Linked DNA regions of Homo sapiens: regions 2 and 3 are each linked to region 1. The links are contacts of gene promoters, found by promoter capture Hi-C in human tissues and cell types (Jung and others, 2019). All regions are on one chromosome and are shown on one strand. Each heading gives the region's core, a stretch centred on a gene start or on the middle of the fragment in contact. The rest is flanking DNA. Distances are from core to core; before and after follow the strand shown. Region 1 holds the start of DHRS2 (dehydrogenase/reductase 2). Region 2 has its middle 120 kb from the start of LINC00596. Region 3 has its middle 91 kb from the start of LINC00596.

Region 1 (3,280 bases), core at 57-2,556:
GAGAAAAATCGGATTTAGTGGCCCTTACCGACGCATTCTCGAAAACCTGTTAGAGTCCTAAGCATTCTCCTGTTAGTATTGGGAACTTACCCGTGTCCTATAAAGATGTTATGCCCCAAAAATGAAGAAGAGTAACCTGAGGGAGGGAAGGGGTCTCCAGGGTTGGAAAAGTGACACCTTTTGTCCTCACTTATATGAATAGGAAGGATACAATTTCTGAGGCTCCCCCTATCCTAGCTTCAGGAATAGCTTTTGTTAGACCTGCTTATCTGAGGAGGGATTCTAAAATTCCAGATAGTTCCCCCTACAACTGGGCTTTGGGCAAAAATTATGTCTTTCTGATTGGTGAGCCCAGGTGCCTAAAGAAGGTAACAGAGTCCTGAAATTTTTACTAGAAATCATTCTTATAAGAGAAATTAGAAAAGCACCAGAGACAGGGAGTGGTTTTTTAGAAGTGGGACTAGCCTAGGAGAAGAGAGGAGAGAGAAAGTTTGTCTGGCAGGCATTAGGACCCAGCGAGCAAGGGTCAGGATAGATAGGATAGATAGGTGAGTCTCACTTGGGCAACATGCCTTTGAGAGTTCCGCTCATGGCCGCAGGGTCAACCAACTTGTTGTGGGGACTCCGGAGCTGAATGGCTTTCCTCTCTGTTGACCCTCAGCTCAGCCCAGAAGTACAGGAAAAGCGGAAGCTGGTTCCAGGCAAAACAACATTCCCAACTCCACAGAGCCAGGGGTTGTTAGAGATCCCTTTCCCAGAAAGCCTGACACCCACGTTTTTAGTCCAGCGGCTGCGCTAGTCACTTTTAACTGGCCGACAGGTGCCCAGAATTTAGCCACCGAATTCTAAGGAAAAATAGGACAGAATAGCAAATGAAAGGGATCTGATGGTACTCACCACTTGGCGATAGGTGATAGTCTCACCGCTTGGTGATGGTCTCACCACTTGGCAATAGTCTCACTGCTTGGCAATAGTCTCACCACTTGGTGATAGGTGACAGTCTCTTCAAAGTCACCAAAATGTGTACGGAATTGATGGGTTCTTGGCCTCACTGACTTCAAGAATGAAGTTGCAGACCCTTGCGGTGAGTATTACGGTTCTTAAAGATGGTGTGTCCAGAGTTGTTCATTCCTCTCGGTGCATTCGTGGTCTTGCTGGCCCCAGGAGTGAAGTTGCAGACCTTCGCGGTGAGTGTTACAGCTCTTAAAGGTGGCACGGACCCAACGAGTGAGCAGCAGCAAGATTTATCATGAAGACCAAAAGAACAAAGCTTCCACAGCGTGGAAGGGAACCAGAGCAGGTTGCTGCTGCCGGCTCAGGCAGCCTGCTTTTATTCCCTTAACTGGCCACACCCACATCCTGCTGATTGGTCCATTTTATGGAGAGCTGATTGGTCCATTTTACAGAGAGCTGATTGGTCTGTTTTACAGAGAGCTGATTGGTCCGTTTTGACAGAGTGCTGATTGGTGCATTTACAAACCTTTAGCTAGACACAGAGTGCTGATTGGTGCATTTACAATCCTTTAGCTAGACACAAAAGTTCTCCAAGTCCCCACCAGATTGGCTAGACACAGATTGCTGATTGGTGCATTTACAAACCTTTAGCTAGACACAGAGTGCTGATGGGTGCATTTACAAACCTTTAGCTAGACAGAAAAGTTCTCCAGGTCCCCACCGGACCCAGAAGCCCAGCCGGCTTCACCTCTCAATGGCACACACTGCAGGACTTTGCGGCACCTAGCCCAGGCACTCCAGCAGCCCAGAGGGAGCTCATCCCCCAGTCAGGCCCAGCTGGCACCGGCCGGCCCACGGAGCCCCTGCTGGCCGGTGAGTGCCCTGTACAGTGTGGGCTCCTGCCGGCGCCTCTCCCTCCACACCTCCTGGCGAGCAGAGGGAGCTGGCTTCGGCCTTGGCCAGCCCCAGAGAGGGGCCCCCACAGTGCAGTGGTGGGCTGAAGGGCTCCTCAAGTGCAGCCAGAGTGGATGTGGAGGACGAGGAGGCACCAAGAGTGAGCAAGGGCTGCTAGCATATTGTCACCTCTCACTTCTAGTTGAAAAAGCAAAATCAACAGAAACTCTCATTCACTGCTGGGTAGAGGGTAAGTACAATCACTTTGGGAAATGATTTGGCATTATACGGAGAAGTTGAAAATAAAGATCTCTGACTCTGTAGAGGGAACTTGCATCCTGCAGACAGGAGGTCATGTGTGCACCAAGAGACTGTACACACAGGTTCAGAGAAGCCTGCTTAGAATGTTCCAAACTGGAAACAAGTCTGTATTAGTTTGTTTTCACACTGCTATAAAGAACTAACTGAGGCCAGGCACGGTAGCTCACACCTGTAATCCCAGTACTTTGGAAGGCCAAGGTGGGCAGATCCCTTGAGCTCAGGAGTTTGAGACCAGCCTGGGCAACAAGGTGAAACCATGTCTCTATAAAAATTAGCTGGGTGTGGTGGTGCATGCCTGTAGTCACAGCTACTCGGGAGACTAAGATGGGACGATTGCTTGAGCCCAGGAGGTCAAGGCTGTGGTAGGCTGAGATTGCACCACCGTACTCCAGCCTGGGAGAGAGAGCAAGACCCTGTCTCAAAAAAAAAAAGAACTACCTGAGACTGGGTAATTTATAAAGAAAAGAGGTTTAATTGACTCACAATTCCACAGGCTGTACAGGAAGCATGGCTGGGAAGGCCTCAGGAAACTTACAATTAAGGCAGAAGGTGAAATGAAGCAGGCAGAACTTACACAGCTGGAGCAGGAGGAAGTGAGAGCAAAGGGGGAGGTGCTACACACTTCCAAACAACCAGATCTCATGAGAACTCACTCACTATCACAAGAGCAGCAAGGGGGAAATCTGCCCCCATGATCCAATCACCTTCCACTAGGCCCCCTCCTCCAACATTGGGGATTACAATTCGACATGAGATTTGGGCAGGGACACAGACCTAAACCATATCAAAGTCTATATGCCTATTAACGGTGGAATGGATAAACAAACTGTGTTGCATTTCTATAATGGAATACTATACAATAATGAAAATGAATGAGCTGAAGCCACACTGAACAACATAAAGGAATCTTAAAAAATATACTGTTGAGTAAAAGAAGTCAGACACAAAAGAATACATATTATTTGAGTCCACAAGTTTCAACAACAGGTAAAACAATTCTATATTGCTTAAGAAGGCAAACAGGTGACAAAAATACAGAGAAATGCAGGGCAGTGATCACCACAAAAGTGAGGAGAGTGGGTATTTCCGCAGTAGAGCTGTGGGGAGGCAG
Region 2 (3,315 bases), core at 358-2,857, 140 kb before region 1:
CTGCAGTGTTTAACCTGTTGTGAATCCCATTCAGTGTATTTTTTATCTTATGCACTGCAGTTTTCATTTCTAGTACCTCAATTTGGATTTAAAAAAAAATCTTTCATGTCTCTACATAACTTTTGAGCATATGCAATACAGCTGTAACACCTGTTTTAATGTTCTTTTCTGCTAATTCAAACATCTCAGTTCTGTGTTCATTTTGCTTGATTTATTTTTATCCTTATTATGATTGTATTTTCCTGCTCCTTTGTATGCCTTACATTTTTTAATTGGAAGCCAGAAGTTGTGAATTGTATCTTGTTAGATGCTGGATATTTTAGTATTCCTATTAATATTTTTTATTTCTGTTCTGGGGTGCAGTTAAGTTACTAGGGAACAGTTTGATCCTTGCCTAAAGTCTATTAAATGGGTTCAGAGCAGGGCTCATTCTAGAGATAATTATTCTCCACTCCTAAGGGAAGACTACTCTGAGCACTAAGCCCAGTGCTTTATGAATTATGAGGTTTTTCAGTCTGGCTTGTGGGAAGAGGCACTATTCCTGGCCCTGTGGGAGCACCCTGCCACCTTTCTTATGGTTCTTTCCTTGGCCTTGGTTGGTTTCCTCACATATGTGTGCTGATCAGTACTCTTCTGACTACTCGAGAGGAACCTTCTGTAAACCTGTGAACATCTCCCTGCAGCTCCTTCCTCTCCAGTCCTCTGTCCTGCAAATTCTAGCTGCTCCAGTCTCCCCAGACTCTTAGGTCTGCTTCCCTAACTGGAGGAGACCTCAATCATCACAGTTTGTAATTAATAAATGAGTGTGAGCACTTGACTCATGTCTGACCCTTACTTTACAACCAGACTGTAAGCTTCTTGAGAGCAGACGACTTAGTCTGTTTTGCTCATCATTGTGTCTCTAGTGCCTTGCACACTATCTGGCTGATAGTGGGTCCTCAATAAATACACAGTGAATAAAATAATTAAGATTAAACCCAAGCATACCACATAGAAATACTAAGTTCACAAATGGGCATTAATACATAATGTTTTTTAATCATCTCTCTTTTTTCTCTTTTATGTTTACTGAAATTAAAATAAATGGATCAGAACTACATGTATCTACAGAATAAACCTCACATAATGTTGAACAAAGATAGCAAGTTGCCCAAGAATATGTTCAATGTGCTATCATACATAAAGTTTAAATATATGGAAAATACTATATATAGTTAAGGGATACATATATGTAACAAGGTATGAAGACTGGCATAGGAATAACCTCTACCAAATTTAGGTTAAGGGTTTCATCTTTAGAGAAAGAAAGGGGAGAAGCTGGAAAGGTAGAATAGAGGGAATCAATTCTATATGTAATGTTTAATTTTTTAAGCTGGGATGTGGTACCTGGCTGTTCGTTATGTCACTTTCTGTACTTTATGTTTAAACCATTTCATAATATAAAGAAAGCTACTTGCAGATTTGAAAGAATTACAGATTATACATGCTGATATGGACAAACTACATGCAATGAGGCTCTAATAAAATAAAACCAGAGTTAGAACAAAGAAAGAAAAAAGAGAAGAAATTGGCCAGTAAAAAACCTTAAGTGACATACACAAATGAAAATTATCTAATTGTGAGAAAACATCAAACAAATCACAACTGAGGACATTTGACAAAATACCCGACAAGTTCTTCTGGAAAATATCAATGTCATCAAAACCAAGGAAAGTCTGAGAAACTGTCACAGCCAGGAGGAGTCTAAGGAGATATAATGTGGTATCGTGGATGGAATTCTGGAGCAGAAAAAGACATTAGATTAAAGCTAAGAAAATCTGATTAGCCAAAGTATGGGCTTCAGTTAATAACAATGTATCAGTGTTGGTTGATCAATTGTGACAAAGTTACCATACTAGTGTAAGGTGTTAACAATAGGTGAAACTCAGGGTGAGGTATATGAAAATTCACCGTACTCACTCTGCAACTTTTCTGTAAATGTAAATCTAATCTGATAGTTTTTTAAAGTAAAAAATACAAAACAATAGAGCAACATCTGGCATGCTTGTGTCCTGCTGTGTTGCAGTAGCCAGTGCATAACATCAACTGTGTCATGTTCTTGACAAACAATTTAACCTGAATGTAATTATTAATAAACCATCAAAGAAATAAAAACTAGGGGTCATTCTGCTAAAACCTGGCCTGTCCTCTTAAAAAAAAAAAAAAAAAAAAAAAGGCTGGATGCGATGGCTCATGCCTGTAATCCCAGTAATTTGAGAGGCAGAGATGGGAGAATTGCTTGAGCTCAGGAGTTTGAGACCAGCCTGGGCAACATAGCAAGAACCCATTTCTACAAAAAAAAAAAAAAAAAAAAAAATTAAAAATGAGTCAGGGAGAACTAGCTACTAAGGGGTTGAGGGGAAAGGATCATTTGAGCTCAGGAGTTTGAGGCTGTAGTGAGTGCACTCTAGCCTGGGCAACAACAACAACAACAGCATATGTCTTAAAATGTTTATTTAAAAAAATAAGAAAAAATTTTAAAAGAATAAAAAAACGAATGACCATTTTAGATTTCTGAAGACTGGTGATGCACAGCAATCAACTGTGATGTGTCAAACTTGACTGGATCCTGAATTGAAAAATAACAGCTACCAAAAGCCATTTGAGTGCTCATTTGAGAAAACTGCATTTGGAATGTTTAGCAGATTCTTGCAATTCAAAGTGTGGTCCGCAGACCAACAGCATCACCATAACCTTGGAGCTTGTTAGAAAGGTAGAACATCAGCCCTCATCACAGACCTACTGAATCAGAATCTGCATTTTGACAAGATCCTCAGGTGACTTGCATGCTTAATAAAGTCTGACAAGCACCATTTTCTGTGGTATTATACAATTGTTAATTGTCTCAAGTGTGAAACTGTGTCAAAATGCCTTAATTCTTAGAAAATGCATGTTGATGTGGTTAGGGGTAAAGTGCAATGGATGTCTGCAACTGACATTCAAATAGCACAGAAAACAAAAGTGTATGAGATGAAGTAAAAGTAGCAGGATGTTAACAGTTGATATTAGGTTAGTGCAACTAATGGCAAAATTGCAATTTCTTTTGCACCAACCAAATAAATTGCAGTGAGGGCTATACAAGTGCTTATTGCACTATTTTTCATCTTTTATGTAGATTTTAAATTTCCATAATTTCAAATGTAGAAGATTTTTATGGACTGTCTTTAAATTTAAAAATCTATTTTGAGGAAAGTTGACATGTTGACAACATTGAGTTTTCTCATCAATGAATATGGTATATCACTCTCCATAATCAAGTTTTCTTCTTTGTCCTTC
Region 3 (3,401 bases), core at 351-2,850, 180 kb before region 1:
GATCTATCCTCAGTGGCTCCAGAATTTGCAATCAGGACTAGTTTGGGAGCTGCACACTGCCTTGCTGTGGGTGAATGGTAGTGGAGGGGCCTAAAACTGTATTTATAAGACACTTTACAGAAATTGAGAAAATAAATAAAATGACTCTGGGAGATGTTTCTTGTCTGATGACCAAAAGTGATTGAGAGGGAACTGGGAATGCTTAGCAGAGAGAAGGCCAGGCAAAACTGGGATAGGTGAAGATAACATAACCTGTTTCATGGTTTGAAGGGCTGTCATAGAGAAGAGAAAATTGACTTGCTCAATAATGCTCAATGTTGGCTGGGCACGGTGGGTCATGCCTGTAATCCCAGCACTTTGGGAGGCCGAGGCGGGCGGATCATGAGGTCAGGAGTTGGAGACCAGCCTGACCAACATGGTGAAACCCTGTCTCTACTAAAAATACAAAAATTATCTGGGTGTGGTGGCACGCACCTGTAATCCCAGCTACTCAGGAGGCTGCGGCAGGAGAATTACTTGAACCCGGGAGGCAAGATCACACCACTGCACTCCAACCTGGGTGACAGAGACTCTCTCTCAATAATAATAATAATAATAATAATAATAATAATAATAATAATGCTCAATGATGTAAGTACAAGGGATGCATCTAATACCAATGGGAAGAAGCTGTATATGGAGAAAGGTTTCTGCTCCTATTAAAAAGATATTTTCCTTGTGATAGTTTGCTGAGAATGATGGTTTCCAGCTTCATCCATGTCCCTACAAAGGACATGAACTCATGGGGCCTGTTGTGGGGTAGGGGGAGCGGGGAGGGATAGCATTAGGAGATATACCTGATGTTAAATGATGAGTTAATGGGTGCAGCACACCAACATGGCACATGTATACATATGTAACAAACCTGCACATTGTGCACATGTACCCTAGAACTTAAAGTATAATAAAAAAATAAAAAATAAAAAAAAGATGTTTTCAAATCCCCAAAGAGGAAATATAGCCATGGGTAATAGGAATTTCCCATGTCACGAGAGCTTTTCAAGAGAGGATGGAAGGTCTACTTTGCTGTAAGGTTGCAGAGGGAATGAACCTCCGACAGGTTTTAAGTAGATAATCCAAAGACAGTTCCACACCAGAGAGTCTCTGATTCTTTATTGAGGTATCCTGTTTTTAGAGGAATATAAGAATGAACTTGTGGGAAAGGGTCAGAGCAATCTCAAGGATTATATGAGAGTAAGAGCCAGAACGTTGAAGTGATTTGAACTGAATAAAATGAACCAATAATGCTTTTAAGCAGTGTTATGCCCACAGAAAAGTATGAACCTATATATTTATAACCTGCCAAATTTGTGCATACTCTGTATTCCTGAAATAAACTGCTCTTTTCTTAGTTGACTCCTAAATAATATCTCCCAAATGACTCTTTAGGAATAAAACTTCTTTAGAGCAAAATTGTCCAAAATGGAAAGGAAATCTTCAAAAGACTAGAAACATTACTTTTGGCTGGACATGATGGCTCACACCTGTAATCCCAGCACTTTGGGAGGCCAAGGTGGGAGGATCACTTGAGGCCAGGAGTTTCAGACTAGCCCTAGCAGGACAGTGAGACCCTATCTCTACAAAAAATAAAAGTAAAAAATTAGCCAGGTGCCGGGCATGATGGCTCACATCTGTAATCCCAGCACTTTGGGAGGCCGAGGCAGGTGGATCACGAGGTCAGGAGTTCAAGACCAGCCTGGCCAAGGTGGTGAAACCCCATCTCTACTAAAAATACAAAAACAAAACAAAACAAAACAAAACAAACAAACAAAAAAAACAAAAAAAAACCTAGCCAGGCACGGTGGCGGTGCCTGTAGTCCCAGCTACTCAGGACGCTGAGGCAGAAAATTGCTTGAACCCTGGAGGCAGAGGTTGCAGTGAGCTAAGATGGCACCACTGCACTCCAGTGCAGGTGACAGAGTGAGACTCCATCTCAAAAAAAAAAAAAAATAGACAGGCATGATGGCATATGCCTGTAGTCCCAGCTACTCAAGAGGCTGAGGTGTGAGGTTGGCTAGAGCCTGGGAAGTTGAAGTAAGCTGCAGTAAGCTGTAGTTGCACCACTGCACTCCAGCCTGGACAACAGAGCAAGACCCTGCCTCAAAAAGAGAGAGAAAAGAAAAGAAAAAAGAAAAGAGAAACATTGCTCTGGCAAGCATGATGGAACCAAATAACAGTGAACCAAAGTCCCAGTATGTGTACAGGCATACCTCAGAGATACTGTAGGTTCAGTTCCAGACCACTACAATAAAGCAAATATTACAATAAAGCAAGTCACGGGAATTTTTTTGGTTCCTCAGTGCATACAGAAGTTATGTTTACACTCTACTGTATTGTAAGTGGGCGGTACCACCATGTCTAAGAAACAATGTACATACCTGAATTTAAAAATACTTCACTGCTAAAAAATGCTAACAATCAGCTGAGCATTCATCAAGTCACACTCTTTTTGCTGGTACAGGGTCTTGCCTTAATGTTGATGGCAGCTGACTGATCAGGGTGGTAGTTGCTAAATGTTAGGGTAGCTGTGGCAATTTCTTCCACTAAGACAACAGTGAAGTTTGTTGCATTGATTGACTCTTCCTTTCACAAAAGATTCCTCTGTAGCATGTGATGCTGTTTGATAGCATTTTACTCACAATAGAACTTCTTTTAAAATTGGAGTCAATACTCTCAAACCCTACTGTTGCTTAATCAGCTAAGCTTATGTAATATTCTAATTCCTTTGTTGTCATTTCAGCAATGTTCACAGCATCTTCACTAGGAGTAGATTCCATCTCAAGAAACTGCTTTCTTTGCTCATTCATAGAAAGCAACTCCTCATTTGTTCAAGTTTTATCAGGAGATTGCAACAATTCAGACACATCTTCAGACTTCACTTCTAATTCTAGTTCTCTTGCTTTTTCCACCACATCAGCTATTACTTGCTTTCCTTCACTGAAGTCTTTAACCCTTCAAAGTCATCCATGAGGGCTGGGAATCAATGTCTTCCCAACTCCTGTTAATGTTGATATTTTGACTTCCTCCTAAGATCACACATATTCTTAATGACATCCACAATGCTTAATCTTTTTTTTATTATTATACTTTAAGTTTTAGGGTACATGTGCACAACATGCAGGTTTGTTACATATGTATACATGTGCCATATTGGTGTGCTGCACCCATTAACTCGTCATTTAACATTAGGTATATCTCCTAATGCTATCCCTCCCCCCTCATGGATGAAGCTGGAAACCACAGTGGTTAATCTTTTCTCGAAGGTTTTCAATTAACTTTGCCTAAATCTGTTAGAGGCATCACAGTCTGTGGCAGCTATAGCCTTACAAAATATATTAATTAAGTAATAAGCCTTGAAAGTC

The links. The method cuts DNA at HindIII sites, captures the fragments that hold promoters and counts their contacts. A contact is called where the count stands out against the background at its distance.
Region 2: a contact is called between a fragment that was not itself captured here and the fragment with the promoter of DHRS2 in region 1, in 1 of the 25 tissues and cell types used here (lymphoblastoid cells).
Region 3: a fragment that was not itself captured here is called in contact with the fragment with the promoter of DHRS2 in region 1 in 2 of the 25 tissues and cell types used here (mesenchymal stem cells and ovary).

The regions. Positions count from the first base shown.
Region 1 is chr14:23,634,390-23,637,669 of GRCh38, reverse strand. It overlaps DHRS2 (dehydrogenase/reductase 2), which reads right to left and starts at 1,306. Exons shown (of 9, transcript NM_005794.4): 1 at 898-1,306. The HindIII fragment of the contact is 10,677 bases long and covers 1-3,280 here.
Region 2 is chr14:23,777,938-23,781,252 of GRCh38, reverse strand. No RefSeq gene overlaps it. Among named protein-coding and RNA genes, the nearest start is that of LINC00596, 120 kb to the left of the region's middle. The HindIII fragment of the contact is 4,786 bases long and covers 1-3,315 here.
Region 3 is chr14:23,810,637-23,814,037 of GRCh38, reverse strand. No RefSeq gene overlaps it. Among named protein-coding and RNA genes, the nearest start is that of LINC00596, 91 kb to the left of the region's middle. The HindIII fragment of the contact is 9,196 bases long and covers 1-3,401 here.